2 separate regions of the Homo sapiens genome follow, and region 1 is linked to region 2. Evidence: promoter capture Hi-C in human tissues and cell types (Jung and others, 2019). All regions are on one chromosome and are shown on one strand. The core of a region is centred on a gene start or on the middle of the fragment in contact, and the rest is flanking DNA. Distances in the headings are between cores, read along the strand shown.

Evidence for each region. The method cuts DNA at HindIII sites, captures the fragments that hold promoters and counts their contacts. A contact is called where the count stands out against the background at its distance.
Region 1: a fragment that was not itself captured here is called in contact with the fragment with the promoter of NF2 in region 2 in 1 of the 25 tissues and cell types used here (dorsolateral prefrontal cortex).

Annotation. Positions count from the first base shown.
Region 1 is chr22:29,976,307-29,981,654 of GRCh38, forward strand. It overlaps MTMR3 (myotubularin related protein 3), which reads left to right. Exons shown (of 20, transcript NM_021090.4): 4 at 2,136-2,225; 5 at 2,630-2,746. Among named protein-coding and RNA genes, the nearest start is that of MIR6818, 28 kb to the right of the region's middle. RefSeq lists an enhancer at 3,424-3,473. The HindIII fragment of the contact is 4,354 bases long and covers 601-4,954 here.
Region 2 is chr22:29,601,181-29,606,437 of GRCh38, forward strand. It overlaps NF2 (NF2, moesin-ezrin-radixin like (MERLIN) tumor suppressor), which reads left to right and starts at 2,453. Exons shown (of 16, transcript NM_000268.4): 1 at 2,453-2,932. The coding sequence starts at 2,819. RefSeq lists enhancers at 1,839-1,968, 5,176-5,257 and a silencer at 2,219-2,798. The HindIII fragment of the contact is 17,440 bases long and covers 1-5,257 here.

The DNA of each region.
Region 1 (5,348 bases), core at 1,528-4,027, 380 kb after region 2:
TAGTGTCTTTTGGAAAAAAGACCTGCCAAATGTCCAAGTCTGCATTACCATAGTTTTTCCATCAGTTGTTCTTCCAATTAAGAATGATACTCAATGAAAAAAAATGGCTAGTTCATCTCTTAATTGAAGCATTTGCACAAGTGCTTTACTTTGTGACACCGTAATATTGCACCATACATCAGAGGTGTTTTACTTGTATTTCCTCTGTAAAAAAGACTTCTACTTAAGGGTCAGGATTTAATAAATAGAATTTATAATATTTCCTTGCTTTATCAAGGTCATTCTTATGAAATTGGCACCACTGTCTCAATTGTGCTAAGGTACCAGCAGTTTTACCTACCAGGTTTTTTTGCACTATTAGTATAGATGTCAATACAGTGAAGAAAGGCAATAATACCGTAATATTATTGGGAAGGTTTTGACCTCGCAGGGCCCCTGTAAGCATCTCAGAGTCTGTGGACTTCATTTTGAGAATCATGCTAGTGTAGAGTATTACCAGTTTATGATTATGGTTGCTGTTAGTAAAACCTTAAGTGTTGTTTATAGATAAGAAGAAAAACTCTTTTTGGGGGAAGACTTACAAAATTATTGGAATTGTGTTAAGTAGTGTACACAGAAGCAACCAGTAACCACTGGTTATAATTCTTAATGCTGTCAGTTGAACATGATGTGGCTTTTGCTCTTTTAAAAATTGCTGTGTGGGGCCAGTCTTGGTGGCTCACACCTGTAATCCCAGAACTTTGGGAGGCTAAGGTGGGAGGATTACTTGAGCCCAGGAGTTTGAAACCAACCTGGACAACATAACGAGACCTTGTCTCTACTGAAAATAAAAAAAATTAGCCTGGCATGGTGGTGGGCGCCTGTGGTCCCAGCTACCTGGGAGGCTGAGGCTGGAGGATCACTTGAGCCCCGGAGTTGGAGGTTACAATTAGCTGTGATTGTGCTGCTGCACTCCAACATGGGTGACAGAGCAAAACCCTGACTTAAAAAAGAAAAGTGCTGTGTAAACAGATTCTATTATAATTTAGTCAGGCTTTGTGATAGATGACATTTCTCTCATGTCTTCCTATACCATAAAAATTCATAATGCAAAATATTACTTTTTAATACAAATTGTAATTTACATGTCATCTAGATGAGAATTTATTGCTTCCTCTTTTGAAATTGTCTTAACAGAAATCTATTTTGTAATATAAGGCAGAGTAAATGAAGGATAGTCTTTCATATATTTTCAACTTGGGAAATTCAGTTCTTAAGCTTACTTTTTCTTAGAAATTGTTTTCAAGCTTTCTATTATGAAAATTTCACATATAACCAGAGTAGACACAATGGTAGAGATAATGAACTCTCACCCAGTTTCATGAATTACTAATTCATAGATAGTCCTGTTTCACTTATGTCCCGCTTCTTCCTTACTCTTGCCCCAGTTATTTTGAAGCAAATTTCAAATGTCACCTTTCATTTTTAAATATTTCAGTATGTATCTCTCAAATAATTTAAGATCGTAACTTAAAGAGAAAAAAGCATTATATCTTGGTTTCTCTTAAAAGTAGTGTGGGGCTGGGCACAGTGGCTCATGTCTGTTATCGCAGCACTTTGGGAGGCTGAGGCAGCTGGATCACCTGAGGCCAGGAGTTGGAGACCAGCCTGACCAACATGGCAAAACCCCGTCTCTACAAAAATAGTAGCCAGGCGTTATGGCACGCACCTGTAGTCCCAGCTACTCAGGAGGCTGAGGCAGGAGAATCGCCTGAACCCAGGAGGCAGAGGTTGCGGCGAGCCAAGATTACACCACCGCACTACCTGTGCACTACACTACCAGTGCACCACTGCCTGGGTGATAGTGAGATTCTGTCTCAAAAAAAGAAAAAAAAGTATTAAGAAGCTGTTAGTGCCTAATAGAAATATTCTAACCTCTTTGACATTTTTTTTGCATCAATGTGTTTTCAGACTAGATGTAACTAATGTATTGGATAGAAAAACTTTTTAAGATCAATATTGTTTCCTTGAGCTTTTCTGCCTGTTCACCTTGGTCTTTGTACTTTCATTGTGATTATGCTAGCAGATATGGCAGAAAAACCAAATATGAATGATTAGAAGCTTTGAAATTATTTTAAGGTTTTGGACTTTTCCAGGATGAAGAGACTCGGCACAGCCTTGAGTGCATCCAGGCCAATCAGATCTTTCCCAGGAAGCAGCTGATCCGGGAGGATGAGAATCTTCAGGTAATTATAGGCCACTTTTAAATGTAAAATATTTATTTAGCATTAACTGTATAGCAGAGTTAATGGATTTAAGTGTAACGTACTATATTATATATATATATAACATACATGTAGTAGAAATGCAAGCTGGAAAACATCTCATTTTAGCAAGACTTATTTCCTGAGAATCCACTGTTTAAGATGATCTTCTCTGTATCATTCCTTTAGTAGTTCAGAATTTGAATAACTAGATATATTTGAATTAGGTGGGTATAAACCCATCCTCTTTAGCTTCCTTATCTACTTATGTGCTGTGTTTTCAACTTCAGTGGCAGAGGATTTACCATCCATTCAGCCAACTGATGTTTGAAGCTTTTTTTTTTTTAACTGCTTCAGAACTCTGAAGGGTTTCTTTCATTTCGAAGGTTCCTTTCCTTGAACTTCATGGAGAGAGCACAGAGTTTGTGGGCCGTGCCGAGGATGCCATCATTGCCCTTTCCAATTACAGACTTCACATCAAGTTCAAGGAGTCTCTTGTTAATGTAAGTGATTACCAGCTGTTCTCCCTCTAAGGTAAATGGAGAAAGTAAGTCAAAAAACTTAATGCTCTCAAAGAGAGGAGAGGCATACAGAATTGGGAGAGAAAGCATTATGTGCTCTGCTTTTCTCACTTAATTTAGCACTCAAGGAACACTGGCTTGGCCAGGCGCGGTGGCTCACGCCTGTAATCCCAGCACTTTGGGAGGCCAAGGCAGGCAGATCACGAGGTCAGGAGATCGAGACCATCCTGGCTAACACGGTGAAACCCCATTTCTACTAAAAATACAAAAAATTAGCCGGGCGTGGTGGCAGGTGCCTGTAGTCCCAGCTACTCAGGAGGCTGAGTCAGGAGAATGGCATGAACCCGGGAGGTGGAGCTGGCAGTGAGCCAAGATCACGCCACTGCACTCCAGCCTGGGTGACCAGAGCAAGACTCCATCTCAAAAACAAACAAACAACAACAACAAAACACACTAGATCAGCAAGCAGCTCTTATGCTTGATTTAAAATGATGTGTGTAGTTGTCAGCTGAGGTGTCCATTGTTTAGTTTAACAGTGAATGATTTGCATTAGGTAATGCTGTATCATTAAGCTTTATAAAGGTATAAAGGCTGAATGGGCTTTTATTCTGCAATCTTTAGTAGTTACCAACTGCCTCAGTTGAGATAATTCCCTTGGCCTTAATGTCAAAAGATGAGATGCACTTTGAGCTCACTGCAGACTCTCATTACAGCATGAGGTTACTCTAATGACTCCTTGGTGGTATAAGTGTAGATGTTAAGTATAATGTTGATTTGCATAATGGACTATGTATTACTGAAGAAAAGGAAGCCTCTTGATTCTCAAGAGTACATTTACCCTTTTCAGTTATGAATGTCCTCTCAGTGAACTGGTTCTTCCAGTGCTCTGCTATCATTAGCCTTAAATGAAACGAATAAAGGCTTGAAAATTCATGTACTTACAGCAAATGCCTTCTTCCTTCTTTACTTGCCAGTGTTGTGGCTTTCTACACTCCACTTCCAGCACAGAGAAGTGTATTATGACACGTTAAAACAGCTCAGGACTGTAATTCCATGCAGACTGTGTTTTGGCTTCATTTTGGGATTCTTTGAAATCTTGTTCATTCGTTTTACTCAGCAATTAAAAAAAGACTCAGTGGCTGTCATTTTTTTTTTGGTAGTTGACATTTTTTACTTCTTATTATCATTCTTCTTTGTAGTTAAGCATTTATGTCCAGGAGCAGTTTTGGCCTGAATCCCTTCTGGCTTCTAGATTTGGGCCATGATTATAGCAGTTACATCAGTTTTCTGTCTATCAGCTAAAGATACACACCAGATTCATTAAGGAAAGAGGCAATGCTGTTCTTTCATACTATGTAGCACTCTGTTCAGAAGGGTCCACTTGGATTTGAGTAGTCGTGATGGGGAGGGGAAAGGGGGGAAACACCTATAAAATCCCAGCAACTGAGAATTCCCCACCAGCTACTGTGGAAGTAATGATAGTAGTGTTTAGTAGAACTGCCCAATTTAACTTTGTGTTCTTTCAGTGTTTGAATTGCTGGAATTAAATTATAATTAAATTGCATGTGAGAATGATAGTTTCATATCATTGCATTTTCTCATATCATCCTGTATTTATCAGTTTATTGGTTGATGGCCAAGTGTTTCAGAGACTATTTTAGAACTATTTGGGAATAAGGTCTGCTGGAAAGCAAGCAGGAAAGAAAGAAAGAAAGAAACTGATCATGTCATTCATCAGCTTAAAGCCCTTCAGTGTTTCTTCACTACTTCTATGATGAAGATCAGATTGTTTAGCATGACATGAAGCTGTCTGACAACGTGGCAGGGACCAAGGATCACAGCTTCCCTCCTTTCCCCATTATCACATTTTTACTTGTAAAAGCAGCCTCTTTGTACTATTCAGCCATACCTCACACCTCTGTGTTCTCTTTTCGGCCCAGGAACTTCTGTTCATCTGTCAAAATTCAGTTCAGGTGATAACTTCTCCTGTGAAGCCTTTCTTAGTCCCAGTTCCCTCTGTGACAGTTAACTACACTCTTTCTTTGCTTTGTCTTTATCTTGTACATTCTTTTATAACATTTACCAAATAGGTTGTAATTTTTGGTTAATTGTTTTTGTGTCTTCAAGATCCAGCATGTCTCCTGGTGCCACAATATTCAGTAAATATTAAATGAATTGAAGTTAATGTGGGTTTGAAGTGGGCATTAGAACCTTTTCCCCCTTTGGTGTTTAAAGCTCATTTTAAAACAGTACACTTCTGTGTGAATAGGCTGTGGCTTAATTGTCTCTAAGGATAGCTGTGTGAGTAGGTTGTTGACTGGAATTGTTGATCCCCCATTGTGATTGAGAGATAATGCTTAAGGAAACTTGCCACTGTTCTTTCTTTTGATCAATTTTCTTAATCTGAAAGTGTTTTTTTTCTGTTAGCATCATAACCCTCTAAGGCATAGAGCCTACATGTTACTTAAAAAGCCCAGGGTAGGCCGGGTGCAGTGATGCACGCCTGTAATCTCAGCACTTTGGGAGGCTGAGGCAGGCAGTTCACCTGAGGTTGTGAGTTCGAAACCAGCCTGGCCAAAATGGT
Region 2 (5,257 bases), core at 1,203-3,702:
GTGTCACGCATTTTCTTTTTCCTTTTTTTTTGAGACGGAGTCTCGCACTCTCGCCCAGGCTGGAGTGCAGTGGCGCCATCTCGGCTCACTGCAAGCTCCGCCTCCCGGGTTCACGTCATTCTCCTGCCTCCGCCTCCCGAGTAGCTGGGACTACAGGCGCCCGCCACCACGCCCGGCTAATTTTTTGTATTTTTAGTAGAGACAGGGTTTCACCGTGTTAGCCAGGATGGTCTCGATCTCCTGACCTTGTGATCTGCCTGCCTCCCAAAGTGCTGGGATTACAGGCGTGAGCCACTGGGCCCGGCCCGGTGTCACGTATTTTTATCAGCAGCCATTTGTTGTCCCTGTGGGGAGCCCAGAAAACCCAGCCCGGTTCTCCCACCTGCGGGGAAGAAATGAAGCAATGATAATGAAGACACTCCCATGCCAAGCCCATACTGCCCTGAGCAATCAGTTTTGGTGGGGAGAATTTGCTAGCAGAAGGCAGGACATAAAGTCCCCACAGCAGCCTCACTGGGTGTGGCAGCAAATCATTCCTGAGGCCTGGCCGGTGCTACCAGGCACAGCAGGGGTCCGTGCAGAAGAACTAGATTTATTCCATTAATATACCGTTACAGCAACAATGTCTGCTGAGTACTCCGGAACTGTAATTCACATTTCCTGAGGCTGTAGTAGGGAGAATTTGGAAGCAGGGCAGCACAGTGCTAACCAGCAGGCTCTGGGTGGGACAGACCTGGGTTTGAGTCCTAGCTTTGCCTTTCACTATCTGCATTATAGTCAGCGAGTGGCTCTATCATATCTCTCAGTATCTTCACCTGTGGAGTTGGGGGGGTGATGCTAATGTTAGCTAACATTTATGGGGTGATTATTGTTGTTAAAACTCAGTACACCGGGCGCGGTGGCTCACGCCTGTAATCCCAGCACTTTGGGAGGCCAAGGTGGGCAGATCACCTGAGGTCAGAAGTTTGAGACCAGCCTGGCTAACATGGTGAAACCCCGTCCCTACTAAAAATACAAAAATTAGCCGGGCGTGGTGGCGGGTGCCTGTAATCCCAACTACTGGGGAGGCTGAGGCAGGAGAATTGCTTGAACCCGGGAGGCGGAGGTTGCAGAGAGCCGAGACCGCCCCATTGTACTCCAGCCTGGGCAACAAGAGCGAAACTCTGTCTCAAAACAAAAAACAAACGAAAAAACACAGTAAATTGTCCCTATTTGACTACTAAGAGCTATTTTAAAATAGAATTTATTATCTAAGTACAGAAAGGTGTAATTATCCCCCCTACACCCGTTAGAACCCTTGATGACACTAAATAAATAATACATGAATACGGTTCAAAAATGGGCATCATAGAGTATAAAATAAAGAATGCTTTCATTTTCAACCCAAATTCAGCAATTTCATAGGATGCCAGGCTCAGCTCTAAAGCCTTATATGTATTCAGTGCGCTGAAATTCAACAACCTCACGAGGTAGGTATAACCAATAATAATTCTAGGCGGGGCGTGGTGGCTCACGCCTGTAATCCTAGCACTTCGGGAGGCCGAGGCGGGCGGATCACCTGAGGTTCGAGACCAGCCTGACGAACATGGAGAAACCCCGTCTCTAATAAAAATACAAAATTAGCCGGGCGTGGTGACGCATACCTGTAATCCCAGCTACTCGGGAGGCTGACGCCGGAAAATCGCTTGAACCCGGGAGGCGGAGGTTGCAGTGAGCCGAGATCGCGCCACTGCACTCCAGCCTGGGCAACAAGAGCGAAACTCCGTCCCAATAATAATAATAATTAATAATAATAATAATAACAATAATAATAATAATTCTAAAGGGAAGCAGAGGGATCTGGCGGGAAAGTGCCAGCAAACCTAACAGGCCTCCACAAGTGTCTTTAAAGTTTCATAGGGGTCGGTATATGTGATTAACTGCCAAAGAAGAATATTCGCCGTGTGTCCGAAACGCAGTCCCCTGGGGCGCCACACTCGGAGCCTACTTGAACCGAAGAGTCCCTCCCTGGGCCAACGAAGGACCCAATTCCCCTCGCCCCGGATCCAGCCTCTAAGTGGTTTCCCGGGTAAGGTCAGCAGAGGTCCGCCGCCTCAACCAGTCTTGTTAGAGTAGGCACAAAAGCATTCAGAGTGACTGCCACTGTAGCCACTCAACGCCGAGCCTAGGCCTGCTTTTTTTGCAGTTAGAGTGAAACTTTCCATTGGTGGAGTCACCCCAAAGGAGGCGGGACGGAGCGGGAAAGTCCTGCCTACCTTGGCCTTCCCAGCCAATCGCAGCATCTATGCGTCAGCCTCCGGTTCGGTTGCGCTGCGCGTAGTGGTCTGGGCGACCTGAGGGCGGGGCCGGGAGCAGGCCCCGGGCTGTGGGGAGGGTGCGCTTCCCGCGGGCGCGCGGAGTGAGGACGGTGACAGCCACGCGCGCGCGTACGCGCCCGATGCAGCGCGGCCCCGTGACCCTAGTCGGCCGCTGAGAGGCGCGCGGAGTCTGGGCCGCTGCCGTCTAGGGGTCCCGTCCCGAGGCGTCCCCGGCATCTCCGGCCCGAATCCCGGAGTGCCGGGTCGCGCCTGCACCGAAGGTCCCGGCTCCTGTGCCCTCCCTGCAGCCGTCAGGGCCCGTCCCCCAACTCCCCTTTCCGCTCAGGCAGGGTCCTCGCGGCCCATGCTGGCCGCTGGGGACCCGCGCAGCCCAGACCGTTCCCGGGCCGGGCAGCCGGCCACCATGGTGGCCCTGAGGCCTGTGCAGCAACTCCAGGGGGGCTAAAGGGCTCAGAGTGCAGGCCGTGGGGCGCGAGGGTCCCGGGCCTGAGCCCCGCGCCATGGCCGGGGCCATCGCTTCCCGCATGAGCTTCAGCTCTCTCAAGAGGAAGCAACCCAAGACGTTCACCGTGAGGATCGTCACCATGGACGCCGAGATGGAGTTCAATTGCGAGGTAACCGGCCGGCAGCCCCGACTGCTGCGGTGACAGTCGAGGTGGAAGCTCGAGAGGTTCTCTTTATATCATCTTATGGGTGTAGCTAGAGACGGGCAGAACCGGAAGGGCCAACTAGGCCCAAAACCTCATGTTAAAGATGATTGCTGCTTTTTTTCATAGGACTTTTGGGTTTTGGCATTTCCTGAAGGTTATTTTCATTCATTGTTATTGGAAGAAGCTGGATGCTCCTGTGATAGAAAATTCAGGATTTCAGTGTCAGGCTTAAGTTAGGCTTACGCTTAAAAGCTTGAAAGTTTATTCTTTCATTAGGTAATATTGTTATGTACCCAGGTATTAGAAGTTGCGTCTTGTTTATTGGAAAGCCAATACTTGTTTCCCTTTTCTAAAGCTTGCATATTCTGGGAAAAAAAACCCTTTGAAGAACGATATAACATCTCATACTTACTTTCCACATAGTTTCCAACATGATGATAACAGCTATCAATTGTTCAGTATTTTCAAAGTGCTAGACATTTGCACATTTAATCCTCAGAACAAACCCATTTATCTAGTAAATGGCAAGGTGGGGTTTTGAACCAAGCTCACAGCCCGTACAGTACTGCTTCTCAAGTAATTTAAGTTCTTGCTGCTAAAAGTGTGGTTTGTGGACCAGCAGCATTGGCAGCAGTAAGCAAGGGTTGGCATGCTTTTTCTGTACAGGACCACATAGTAAATATTTTCAACTTTGTAGACTAGAGAATCTCTGTTGGAGTTATTCAACTCTTCAACTCTACCATTGTAACACAAAAGCAGCCTTAGATAAGATCAGCTTCCAGCATGACAGCTTAAGGAACCCATTCCTCTGTAAAACTGGTGAAAATTCTTTTTTGTTTTGTTTCGTTTTGAGACAGAATCTCACTCTGTCACCGAGGCTGGCATGCAGTAGTGTGATCATGGCTTACTGCAACCCTGACCAACCTCCCTGGCTCAATCAGTCCTCCTGCCTCAGCCTCTCGAGTAGCTGGGACCACAGGCGTGTGCCACCACACCTGGCTAATTTTTTTTTTTTTTTTTTTTTTGAGACGGAGTCTCGCTCTGTCACCCAGAGTGCACCGGGCTAGAGTGCAATGGCGCGATCTTGTCTCACTGCCACCTCCACTTCCAGGTTCAAGTGATTCTCCTGCTTCAGCCTTCCAGGTAGCTGGGATTACAGGCGTGCGCCACCTCGTCTGGCTAATTTTTCTATTTTTAGTAGAGACAGGGTTTCACCATATTGGGCAGGCTGATCTCGAACTCCTGACCTCGTGACCAGCCGACCTGGGCCTCCCAAAGTGGTGGGAAAGTGGTGCGATTACAGATGTGAGCCACCCCGCCCAGCCTCACCTAGCTAATTTTTGTAAAGACAGGGTTTTGCCATGTTGCCCAGGCTGATCTTGAACTCCTGAGCTCAAGCAATCCACTCGCCTTGGCCTCCCAAAGTGATGGGATTACAGATGCAGCCACCACGCCTGGCCCAAAAATTCTTTTTTTAAAATCAACTATTTAAACCCTCCGGCAATGGTCCTGAGGGCAAACAACAAATGAAAAAACACCTATTCAAGAAAATCTACAAATTCGGTAAGAAAGATGAGAGGGTATGGTATTTGAACCAAGATCATTCCCTCCTTACTCACTCCTAGCTTAGTGAGGTGGAGCTTCTACTCCAGACTATTGCAAACTGTAATACCGGGCACTGCTCCCCCAGCTCCCAATCAAATGCTTTCTTCCCAGGAAAAGCAGGACATCAGCATTTCTCATCCTACCTAGAGCTACTTGTTGCTGAGGTTAAAACCTGTGTGAGTGCAATTGAAAGTTGGAGCTCTCTTTTTTTTTCTTTTGAGACGGAGTTTTGCTCTTGTTGCTCAAACTGGAGTGCAATGGTGTGATCTCGCCTCACCGCAGCCTCTGCTTCCCGGGTTCAAGCGATTCTCCCACATCAGCCTCCCAAGTAGCTGGGATTGCAGGCTTGCGCCACCATGTCTGGCTAATTTTGTATTTTTAGTAGAGGCAGGGTTTCTCCATGTTGGTCAGGCTGGTCTTGAACTCCCTACCTCAGGTGATCCACCTGCCTCGGCCTCCCAAAGTGTTGGGATTATAGGCGTGAGCCACTGTGCCCTGCGAAAAGTTGGAGCTCCCTTCTTCCACCTAGTCCCTACTTGTGGAACAGGACTGTACCTTGGACATGACATACTGAAATTACTGGTGCCCCAATTGCTCATCCCCCAGTTCTTGCAGGCTGAGCCTCAGGTTATTGCGGTCCCCTGCCTCCTTCCACCAAGTGCTCAGTTCCTAGAGTGAGGGTAT